Regions from separate parts of the Homo sapiens genome. Here all the other regions are linked to region 1. The links are contacts of gene promoters, found by promoter capture Hi-C in human tissues and cell types (Jung and others, 2019). All regions are on one chromosome and are shown on one strand. The core of a region is centred on a gene start or on the middle of the fragment in contact, and the rest is flanking DNA. Distances in the headings are between cores, read along the strand shown.

Region 1 (3,472 bases), core at 286-2,785:
CCAGCTGGGCTCATCTGCAAGGCTGCAGTAGGGCAGGAGTGGTGGTGGCATAGATATATCTGTTTTGCCAACCCCAGGGTGGCCACGGGTTCCATGGACATGTCCATTCAGGCTGTGAGTCTAGGCATCTTGTTCCTGCGACCTTGGCCTCAGTTTCCTCATCAACCAAGTGCAACTTAGCTAGTGCTGCTAAAACTCCTGCACAGAAACCATGCAGGCAATTTGCTAGGGGCTTCCGTTTGCTCTATCTACAAAATGGAAGCAACGGGCCTCCTAATTGGCACTTGGTGCCACCATTGGCCCCAAACCCCTTCTCATCACAGCCAGGGTGATGCTCCAAAGATGGAAGCCGGTGCCACTGTTCTGCTCCGCCCTTTCCCTGGCCGACCAAGTCGGTTTGCGTCCTCCTCCTCCCTGACCTCACTCCTTTGCAAGCCTCTAACTCCTCACACTTAGGCCCTGCCTCGAGGCCTTTGCCCTTCCCTTGCCGTGGCCTGGAAAACATCTTTCCTTGCTGGTCCTGGGGGTGACCCTCAGGTCTCAGCTTAGAAGTCCCTGACCGCTCTACCCAAAGTAGCCACATCCCTGCCCTCCCCCAGCCTCGCTCCACCCAAGGTACAACTAAATACCCGTTTGGTTTCCCGGGAGATTTTTGTGTTCCCTAAAAGAGGGGGTACCCAGGTCTGTCTGTAAACCCTCGGTGCCTAAGACGGGGCCTGGCATTCGGTGGATGTCAGTGAATGAGTGCGGAGGCTGTGCCCGTCGCAGACCGGGAGAACCCGACACGAGGCGGGGGAAGGGCGCGAGGCAGCGCCCATGCGCATGCGCAAGAGCTCCGACGCCGAGCTGAACTCTCGGGCCGGAGGGAATGACCGTGAGTAACCTCGCAATTACGTCACGGCTGGGGCTGGGGCGGAGCTTCGGCGACGCCTGGGTCCCCAGCTTCAGCCGTGGCCATCACAGGGCTGGAGAGTCACCGGTCGGGCGGCACCCGGCCTGGGACGCGTAGAGGCGCACGTGTCCCGGCCCGGAGCCGCCAAGGGACCCCGGCCCGGCCCAGGAGCCCTCACCCACAAGCGCGCGGCCCGAGACGCTAGCGCGGGAACCAGGGAGGCTCGGTGAGGCTCGGGACACCGAGCTCAGAGACACCGGGAAGTCCCGCGCGAGCACAGCACGGAGCTGGCGCCCGTGGGGGAGACAAAGGCCAGGGAGACACCTGCGCGCCCCCTACTCGCGCCACCCGGCGCAGCTTCAAGCCCTGCCCGCCCTGACGCACCTTCGATGTCGGTCAGCAGCGCCGCGTCCAGATCGCACGGCTCGCCCAGCGCCTGCTCCAAAGCCGCCTCGCTGAAGGGTGGCTCGTCCATGGCGCAGCCGCCTCCTCCGGGAGGCCCGCCGGGCCCGCCGCCTCGTACGGCCCTTCCTAGGGAGCGCCGCCGCGGCCCCGGCTCTCAGTCGCCGCCGCCGCTCCGCGCGTTCGTGTCCTGCCCTGGCCTCAGAGGCGGCCCGGCGCCGGCGAAAAGTTCCTCGGAAACTGGGTTCCCCCGGCCGCAGCTCTGCTGGGCGGTCGAGGCGGAGGCGGGGCCTTTCGGGGAGGACCCGCCCTCCCAGATAGACGGCCCCGCCCCACCTTGAGAGAGCGGGGGACCCCTGATCCCCGGTCTGCGCCACAAATCTCCCCTCAGCCGGCCCCTCCTCCAGAGCGCCCTCCAGTCATTCATTTTATCCAGCCTCGCGCACAATGGCAGCGGCCTCTGGCCGGCTGCTGCGGGAACGCGGGCAAGCCGAGCCCCCTCTCTGGGCCTCTGTTTCTCCAGCACCAAGCAAGGAAGCCGAGTGGAAGCCCCAGGCCTGGGCCCATCCCAAACTTCATTTCCTCATTTCCTAGATTTGACTCTTTAGAACAAGACAGACCAGGATCCAAGTTATAGGGGTCCCAGGCCTGCTGTGTTGTGAGCAGGCCTGATGTAACTGCTGGGCCAGTTACATCACTCTGCCTCAATTTTCCTCATTTGTAACATGGGCCTAATGATGCTTTCTCACGGGCAGGCTGGGAGGCTAGTGACAATGTGGAGGGGAGCATGACCTGTGAGATCAGCCTGCCCCCTCTCTGCAAAGAAACCAGAAGATTGGCCTCTTGAGGACAGGAGTGGCCAAAGAAAGAGGCTGGAATTTCGTCATCTGGTTTCCTCCCAGATCCAGCTGTAGGGATAGGATACCAGTGGGCCCAGTGCAGCTCCTGAAGGAGGAAGCCAGTACCCAAGGAAGACTGGCCCCAGGGCTGTCTGACCCCAGATTTGGCACTTATTCCCAGGAGCAGCCAGGATAGGGGCCGCAAGGAAGAGGTAGCTGTGCTTTAGATCAGAGCCAGGCTGCCCTGGATCATCACAAGCTGGGACTAGATCAGAGCAGGCAGCCCTGTTGAGAAGAGGGCTGGAAACCGAACCTGGTTCTGTGGCCTAGGGACAGAGCCAGGTGGGGCAGGAAGGAGGGAAGGGGTCCCAATGAGGTGGGTTGAAATAAACCAGAATTAACATTCAGGAATCTGAATGTGATAAGGCAGTGAGCTCCCTGTCCCCAGAGGTATGCAAGCAGAGAGAAGCACCCTTGGTGGAGGGCAGTCCAGGAAACTCATCAGGGGCCTGGGCCTCAGGCCTTCCCGACCCCAGACCTTCATAAGTCAAGCCATCCTGCAGACTGCCTTGCTCAAACTCCAGATATAGCCTATCTGGCCACGCCCTAAGCAGGAGTAACATTCATGATGCATTTTAGAAGGGGTGTGTGGGGGAGAGAAGCCACAGAGCCCAAGTCCCTGGGGCTCAGCCTGGACATCCAGCTCCCTTTGTTCCTCTCCCAGAAGTGGCTGCGGTGGAAAATTACCCAGAATAGCGGCGCCAGAAGTCATAGGGGTCGCCAAACCACATCTCCCCAAGTAGCCCTGCTCAAGGGTCCACCCAGGACCCACTCCCTCCAGATGAACAACTGCTGGAGAACACAGAGAACAAAGCTGGCTTCTCCTCAGTGCCCCACCCCCACCAACACTCTAGAGGCTGCAGGAAGCTGGTGACTTCCCTGAAAATTTAAACAGCCCTTCCCAGGGAGGGGGTGGGATAGGAAGTGCTGGGTGAAGCCTAAATACCATTTTCTTCAGAGCTAGGCAGGTGATCTGGGTTTTCACCTGCTTGCTGTGTGACCTGGATCCAATACCTCACTTCTGAGTCTCAGCTACTGTATCTATAAAATGGGAATAACCCTTTCTGCAGTCCCTCTGCAGAGGCAGGGAGGGTGTTTTGGAGTCATCATCACAACAGATCTGCCTCACTGTTTTTTGTTTTGTTTTGTTTTGTTTTTTGTTTTGAGACAAAGTCTCTCTCTGTCACCCAGGCTGGAGTGCAGCGGCATGATCTCGGCTCACTGCGACCTCCACCTCCCAGGTTCAAGCAATTCTGTCTCAGCCTCCTGAGTAGCTGGG
Region 2 (3,472 bases), core at 379-2,878, 250 kb before region 1:
AGCTACTCTGGAGGCTGAGGCAGGAGAATCGCATGAACCTGGGAGGCGGAGGTTGCAGTGAGCTGAGGTCATGCCACTGCACTCCAGCCTGGGCGACAGAGCGAGAATCCATCTCAAAAACAAACAACAACAACAAAAAGAAGTGAGGTGAGGTATGAAGCAAAAGCTGACAGAACTAAAGGGTGGAAAAGACAAATCCACAGTTCTTGTTAGGGCCCTCCATGGTCCTCTCAGTGACTGAGAGAATCAAAGCAGTGGACAAGAAGGCTGCTGGAGCTGGCAAGGTCACCAAGTCTGCCCAGAAAGCTCAGAAGGCTAAATGAATATTATCCCTAATACCTGCCACCCCGCTCTTAATCAGTGGTGAAGAACGTCTCAGAACTGTTTGTTTCAATTGACCATTTAAATTTAGTAGTAAAAGACTGGTTAATGATAACAATGCATCATAAAACCTTTAGAAGGAAAGGAAAATGTTTTGTGGACCACTTTGGTTTTCTTTTTTGCCTGTGGCAGTTTTAAGTTATTAGTTTTTAAAATCAGTACTTTTGAATGGAAACAACTTGACCAAAAATTTGTCGGGCCGGGCGCGGTGAGTCATGCCTGTAATCCCAGCACTTTGAGAGGCTGAGGCGGGCGTATCATGAAGTCAGGAGATCGAGATCATCCTGGCTAACACGGTGAAACCCCGTCTCTACTAAAAAATTAAAAAAATTAGCTGGGCGTGGTGGCAGGCGCCTGTAGTCCCAGCTACTCGGGAGGCTGAAGCAGGAGAATGGCGTGAACCCGGGAGGTGGAGCTTGCAGTGACCCAAGATGGCGCCACTGCACTTCAGCCTGGGCGACAGAGCGAGACTCCGTCTCAAAAAAAAAAAAAAAATTGTCACAGATTTTTGAGACCCATTAAAAAAAATCTAATGAGAAAGAAAGAAAGAAAAAGAAAGAGAAAAAGAAAGAAAGAAAAAGAAAAAGAAGGAAGGAAAGAAAGAAAGAAAGAAAAAGAAAGAAAGAAAGAAAGAAAGAAAGAAAGAAAGAAAGAAAGAAAGAAAGAAAGAAAGAAAGAAAGAAAGAAAAAAAAAAACGCAGGTGGAAAATCGGGAGGACGCAGCTGACCTGAGCAGCGCCATCCAGTGGCTGGACCTGACCACAGCACATGGCAGCCTTGGGAACAGCCTGCAGTCTCTGGTGTCACCAAAACAGATCACACTTGGGGCCACCAAACAAACCTTAAATTTAAACGAATAGAAAGCATACACAGTATGCTCCCAAACCACCACAGAATTAAACTCGAAATCAGTCACAGAAAGCGATCGTGGAAAGAATGCACGCGAGGGCCAAATGGGAAGTCTTGGGAAATCTAGAAACATTTTGAACTGAATGAAAATGAGAATAGAACACATGAAACCCTGTGGGATGCGGCTAAGGCAGGGCTTCTATTAGTAAGGAAGAAAAGTCCCAGGTCAGGAATATAAGCTTTGCCCTTAAGAAATTACAGAAAGAGTGGCTGGGCGCAGTGGCTCATGCCTATAATCCCAGTACTTTGGGAGGCTGAAGCAGGCAGATTACTTGAGGTCAGGAGTTCAAGACCAGCCCGGCCAACATGGTGAAACCCCATCTCTACTAAATATACAAAAATTAACCAGGCGTGGTGGAGGGCGCCTGTAATCCTAGCTACTTGGGAGGCTGAGGCAGGAGAATTGCTTGAACCCGGGAGACGGAGGTTGCAGTGAGCCGAGATTGCACCACTGCATTCCAGCCTGGGCAACAGAGGAAGACTCCGTCTCAAAAAAAGAAAGAAAGAAATTAGAGAAAGAGGAATGAGTTAAACCCAAAGGAGGCAGGACAAAAAATTAAAGATAAGCAAAAATCAATCAAATTGAAAACAGGAAAACAATAGAGAAAAAAAAATTACACCCAAAGCTGGTTCTTTGGGGAAAATTTATTTTCCCAATAAAACTGAGAAACCTCCAGCCAGCCTGACCAAGAAAAAAAGAGAAAAGACACAAAATATCAATATCAGAAATAAAAGGGGGGACTTCTCTACTGACCTCACAAACATTAAAGTAATAATAAGGGAATACTATGAATAACACAAATTAAGTAACTTAGATGAAATGAACCGATCCTTGCAAGACACAACTGTCAAAATTCATTCAAGAAATAATCCTTTATCTTTTAAAGGATTTGAATTTATGGCTTAAAAACCTAAAAAAAGAAAGCCTTGAGCCCAGATGGTTTCCTGGATGAATTCTGCCTAACATTTAAGGAAAAAATAATTCCAATTCCACACAATCTCTTCCAGAATATGGAAGAGGGAGGCAATACTTCCCAACTCACTGTATTACCCTAACACTAAAACCAGGCCGGGTGCAGTGGCTCACCGCCTGTAATCCCAGCATTTTGGGAGGCCAAGGTGGGTGGATCACTTAAGGTCAGGAGTTTGAGACCAGCCTGGCCAACAACCCTGTCGCTACTAAAAATACAAAAAACAAAACAAAACAAAACAAAAACCAGGTGTGGTGGTAGGTGCACCTGTAATCCCAGCTACTCGGGAGCCTGAGGTGGGGGAATTGCTTGAACTCGGGAGGCGGAGGTTGCAATGAGCTGGTATCACGCCACTGCATTCCTGAGTACATGCCTGAGCAACAGAGCGAGACTCTGTCTTAAAATAAATAAATTAATTAAATCAAATGAAACCAGATAAAGAAAGAAGATCCCCCCAAAAATTAGAGCAAATCAAATCCAGCAATATATACAAAGGATAATATGTTAGGACCAGCCAGAGATCACCCCAGGAATCCAGAGCTAGTTCAACATTCAAAACATCAATGGAATTCATATTTACAGCTTAATGAGGAAAAACAGTGTCATCTCAACAGAGGCAGGGGAAACAAGCTCCAAGAGTTTCTGTCATTGTTTTGATGAGCAGCCACGGAAAGCCTCAACCCTGCTCTGTCTTGGCTGATGCCAAAATTACTGAAGACAAAATGTACGGCCTTGAAAACACCACAGAGTAACTCATCTAATATAACGGCCTAATGTTTATTTCAACTAAAGTAATACAATCAAAAGATTTTTGGAAACGATTTTGGATAAAGGCAAACATTTTTCCCTGAAAGGCAGTCAAGATACCCCGCATCGGCCATCGGAGCTTTGCCTCCAGGGTCTTACTCGGGTGCCCATATTACACACAGGGACCTGTGTCCCCTGCCCCAGGTCTCTCAGCCTTCTGAATACAAGGGCTTTGCCTTCTTGAGGACCACCCTTAGGTGGGCTGCACTCGATACTTCATAAAGCTTTACACCCCTCATCTCATTCTGGTCTTCACCATAACCCCCTCACTGTCCCCATTCTTCTTGACACCAACACCAAGCTGGAGACATCATCACTCACCCGCTCTGGTGAGCAGGTGATTCGCTATGGAAAAGGGACCTGAGACCTGGGCATGTGCCCTTGCTCTGAGGACCTCAGTGTGC
Region 3 (3,472 bases), core at 448-2,947, 230 kb after region 1:
CTATTTAACACAGAGAAAATGTGCAGGCAGAGGTATCTGTCCAAAGCCTGCTTTGTGTTCTGGTGTGGGGACAGGCAATGCTGTTGGGCTGCTCTCGACACTGTGACTGTGGTCCTCAGAGAAGATGCCTAAGTCTCAAAGCACAGGCACTTGGACCCCCAAATAGCAGGATCCCTAAATCAGCCATTACAGTTTATTCTGACAAACCATTCTGTTACGTTTCAGGTCCCACCTCCCTAGGAGGCTTGAAGGAACATGACTGGAAACATGGGAGATTTTGAGGAAACATATAAAGTGTTGAGGTCTAAATTTTAAGCAAGTTGAAATGCTAAGGGAATTTACATCAGTGGCAGGGCAAAGCTCCCCTGTTGTGTGTATTTTCTGATCTCATATTGTCTAAGCAATAATAAGCTTTTTTCTCCCATGAGATGTGGTGTCAATAAAAGAATAGACTGTTCACAGTGCTGGACTCAGGATTTAAGACACCATTTATTTTTATCTTTTGAGGCAAGCTCTCTATCACCAGGCTGGAGTGCAGTGGTGCTATCACAGCTCACTGCAGACTCCCAGGCTCAGGTGATCCTCTTGCATCAGCCTCCCAAGTAGCTGGCACCACAGGCATGCGACCACGCCCACCTAATTTTTTTTATTTCTGTAAAGATGGGGTCTCCCTATGTTGCCCAGGCTGGTCTTAACCTCCTGGGCTCAAGCTGTCCACCCACCTCAGCTTCCCAAAGTGCTGGGATTACAGGTGTGAGCCACCACACCCAGCCAAGACACCATTTATTGGCTGTTTTGTTGAATGGAAAAGTCATGGGAGGCCTGGGTTCCACCTATCAACCTTGGGTCCCAATCTGCCCTCAAGGTACATCAGCTAACCTCCCTGAGCCCAACTTCCCTCACCCAGAAAGTGGAAAACCTCTGTCTGGACTAAAGAATTGTTGAGGATTCTAGAAGATGCTCCTGAAAGCACATTGTAAATTGAATAAGAATAATTGTAAATTGAATAACATGTAAAAAGTTATTCTTGCTTAATAATAATATAAAAATATCTACTGGGCCAGGGTGCGGTGGCTCATGCCAGTAATCCCAGCACTTTGGGAGGCTGAGGTGGGAGGATCACTTGAGGTCAGGAGTTCGAGACCAGCCTAGCCAACATGGTGAAACCCCATTTCTACTAAAAATACAAAAACTAGCCGGGCATGGTGGCGGGTGCCTGTAGTCCCAGCTACCAGGAAGCTGAGGCAGGAGAATCACTTGAACCAGGGAGGCAGAGGTTGCAGTGAGCCAAGGTCGTGCCACTGCACTCCAGCCTGAGTGGCAGAATGAGATTCCATCTCAAAAAAATATAAATAAATAAAAAGTATCTACTGAGCCTTGCCACATGCACCATTGTAGGTATTGAGGGTGATGCAGGAATAAAACATGTCTACAACAGCTATAGCAACTCTCTTTCATATCTCGATTCTTAGATCCCCAATTTATAACCTTTAGTTAGCTTTGTTTTTAGGCCATCTATAGGAACTGTAGAAATAGTAGAAATTGTGTAGATTTTAAGTGTGAAACCAATTGCAAAACAGGACAAAAGGAAAACTATAAGAATGCTGTCGGCTGGGCGCGGTGGCTCACGCCTGTAATTCCAGCACTTTGGGAGGCCAAGGTGGGCGGATCACAAGGTCAGGAGATCAAGACTCATCCTGGCTAACACGGTGAAACCCCGTCTCTACTAAAAATACAAAAAGTTAGCTGGGCGTGGTGGCAGGCCCCTGTAGTCCCAGCTACTCAGGAGACCGAGGCAGGAGAATGGCGTGAACCCGGGAGGCGGAGCTTGCAGTGAGCCGAGATAGCGCCACTGCACTCCAGCCTGGGCGATAGTGCAAAGACTCCATCTCAAAAAAAACAACAACAAAAAAAGTGCTATCTCCACTCATCTGAACTGCACCTGGGAAGGGAAGCATTAAAATTGCTCAGTAATGAAATAGGCAGTAGGCTTTGATATATTTAAAAATAAAAATTAAAAAAAAAAGCCTCAAAGTTGGATTGCAGTTGAACAGCTTTTCCCTCCAGATTTTTCTTCCAAAACATCGAAAGATTGAAACTCCCTATTTGTACATAGCAGGGAAAACATGTAAGGCTTTTCATTTGTAGAGAAACATATGCTGGATTCAAGTTTATTTTTGCCATTTTTTTCCTTCTGATTTTTCAGTTCGCTTCATTTTTCAATGCATTAGTCATGGTTTCTCTCCATAATCGCTCCACAGCCCCTCCATCTTCATGCCTTCTCACTGGCTTGACCTGGAGCAGTGTTTCTGAAACCTGGCTGCACTTCAGAAGCACATGGGAGCTGATTTAATGTCAGGCAGCATGCAGACCAGTCCTCACAACCTGTCGATGTTTTTAAAGCTCCCCGGGTGACTCCAACGCACAGGAAGCTTTGAGCGTAACTAAGTGAGCCTCCCGCCCTGAAATGAGAGAAAGGCTTTCAGGCTTGTGGTGTTGGTGGACTAAGTGTGGCTTCTGGCCATTCACACAGTCACCACACTGCAAGGGAGCTGGGAACTGGAGCCTGTGAGAAGCCCCTGTGAACAATGTTCTCTGTCTTAAAACAGCTTACACGGACTTCTCCTTTTTACCTCTAAAAGATTCATTCCCCTTTCCCCAACCATATACCCCAGATTGCAACCCCTTGCTATTCTCAAATAAACTTTTTGTTTTGGAGTGTCAGTCTCTCTCTCGCTTATTTTAGCTTGATGTGAGTAGCTTGCAGAGTTGTGCTGCATAAGGAAAGAAAATAAATAGGAAGTAGCTGTCAGGGGAGTGGGCTAGAAATGGGTTGTTGGTTTGGTTATTTCTGCAGGGGGAGGGGTTTTCTGCAAATTATATGTAATGAGGCTTTGTTTATTGTGGTAAAATGTGTATTACATAAAATTTACCACTTTAACCACTCATAAGTGTACAGTTCAGTAGTATTAAGTACATTCACATTGTGTTCCTATCACCACTGTTTCCAGAAGTTTTCCATCATCCTAAAGAAATTCTGGACTCAGTAAACGCTATCTAAATCCCCATTCCTCCCCCTAGTCCTGATAACCACCATTCTATTTTCTGTCCCCATGAATTTGTCTAGATCCCTCATAGAAATGAAATCATAATAGTATTTATCTTTGTGTGACTGGTTTTTTTCACTTGTAGAATGTGTCAGAATTTCTTTCTATGCTATGGCTGATACTCCATTGTATGTATATAACACATTTTATCCATCTGTTGATGAACATTTGGGCTGTTTCTACCTTTTGACTATTATGCATTGTGCTGTTATGAACACTGGTTTGTGTGGTCAGTATCTGTTTGAGTACCTGCTTTCAAGTATTTTGAGTTTGTAACTAAGGAGTGGAATTGCTAGATCATATAATTCTATGCTTAACTTCTTGAGGAACACCAAACTGTTTCTCATAGTGGCTGCACCATTTTA

What was found. Contacts are between HindIII fragments. The study calls those that stand out against the background at their distance.
Region 2: a contact is called between a fragment that was not itself captured here and the fragment with the promoter of SREBF1 in region 1, in 2 of the 25 tissues and cell types used here (dorsolateral prefrontal cortex and hippocampus).
Region 3: a fragment that was not itself captured here is called in contact with the fragment with the promoter of SREBF1 in region 1 in 2 of the 25 tissues and cell types used here (IMR-90 fibroblasts and dorsolateral prefrontal cortex).

Annotation. Positions count from the first base shown.
Region 1 is chr17:17,835,451-17,838,922 of GRCh38, forward strand. SREBF1 (sterol regulatory element binding transcription factor 1) reads right to left here and starts at 1,536. Exons shown (of 19, transcript NM_004176.5): 1 at 1,277-1,536. The coding sequence starts at 1,367. RefSeq lists enhancers at 411-1,312, 1,313-2,215, 2,216-3,117 and silencers at 915-1,194, 1,385-1,544. The HindIII fragment of the contact is 17,140 bases long and covers 1-3,472 here.
Region 2 is chr17:17,585,223-17,588,694 of GRCh38, forward strand. All of the region lies in intron 1 of PEMT (phosphatidylethanolamine N-methyltransferase), which reads right to left. It also overlaps the pseudogene EEF1A1P43. Among named protein-coding and RNA genes, the nearest start is that of PEMT, 4.7 kb to the right of the region's middle. The HindIII fragment of the contact is 6,883 bases long and covers 1-3,472 here.
Region 3 is chr17:18,068,685-18,072,156 of GRCh38, forward strand. No RefSeq gene overlaps it. Among named protein-coding and RNA genes, the nearest start is that of DRG2, 18 kb to the right of the region's middle. The HindIII fragment of the contact is 6,284 bases long and covers 1-3,472 here.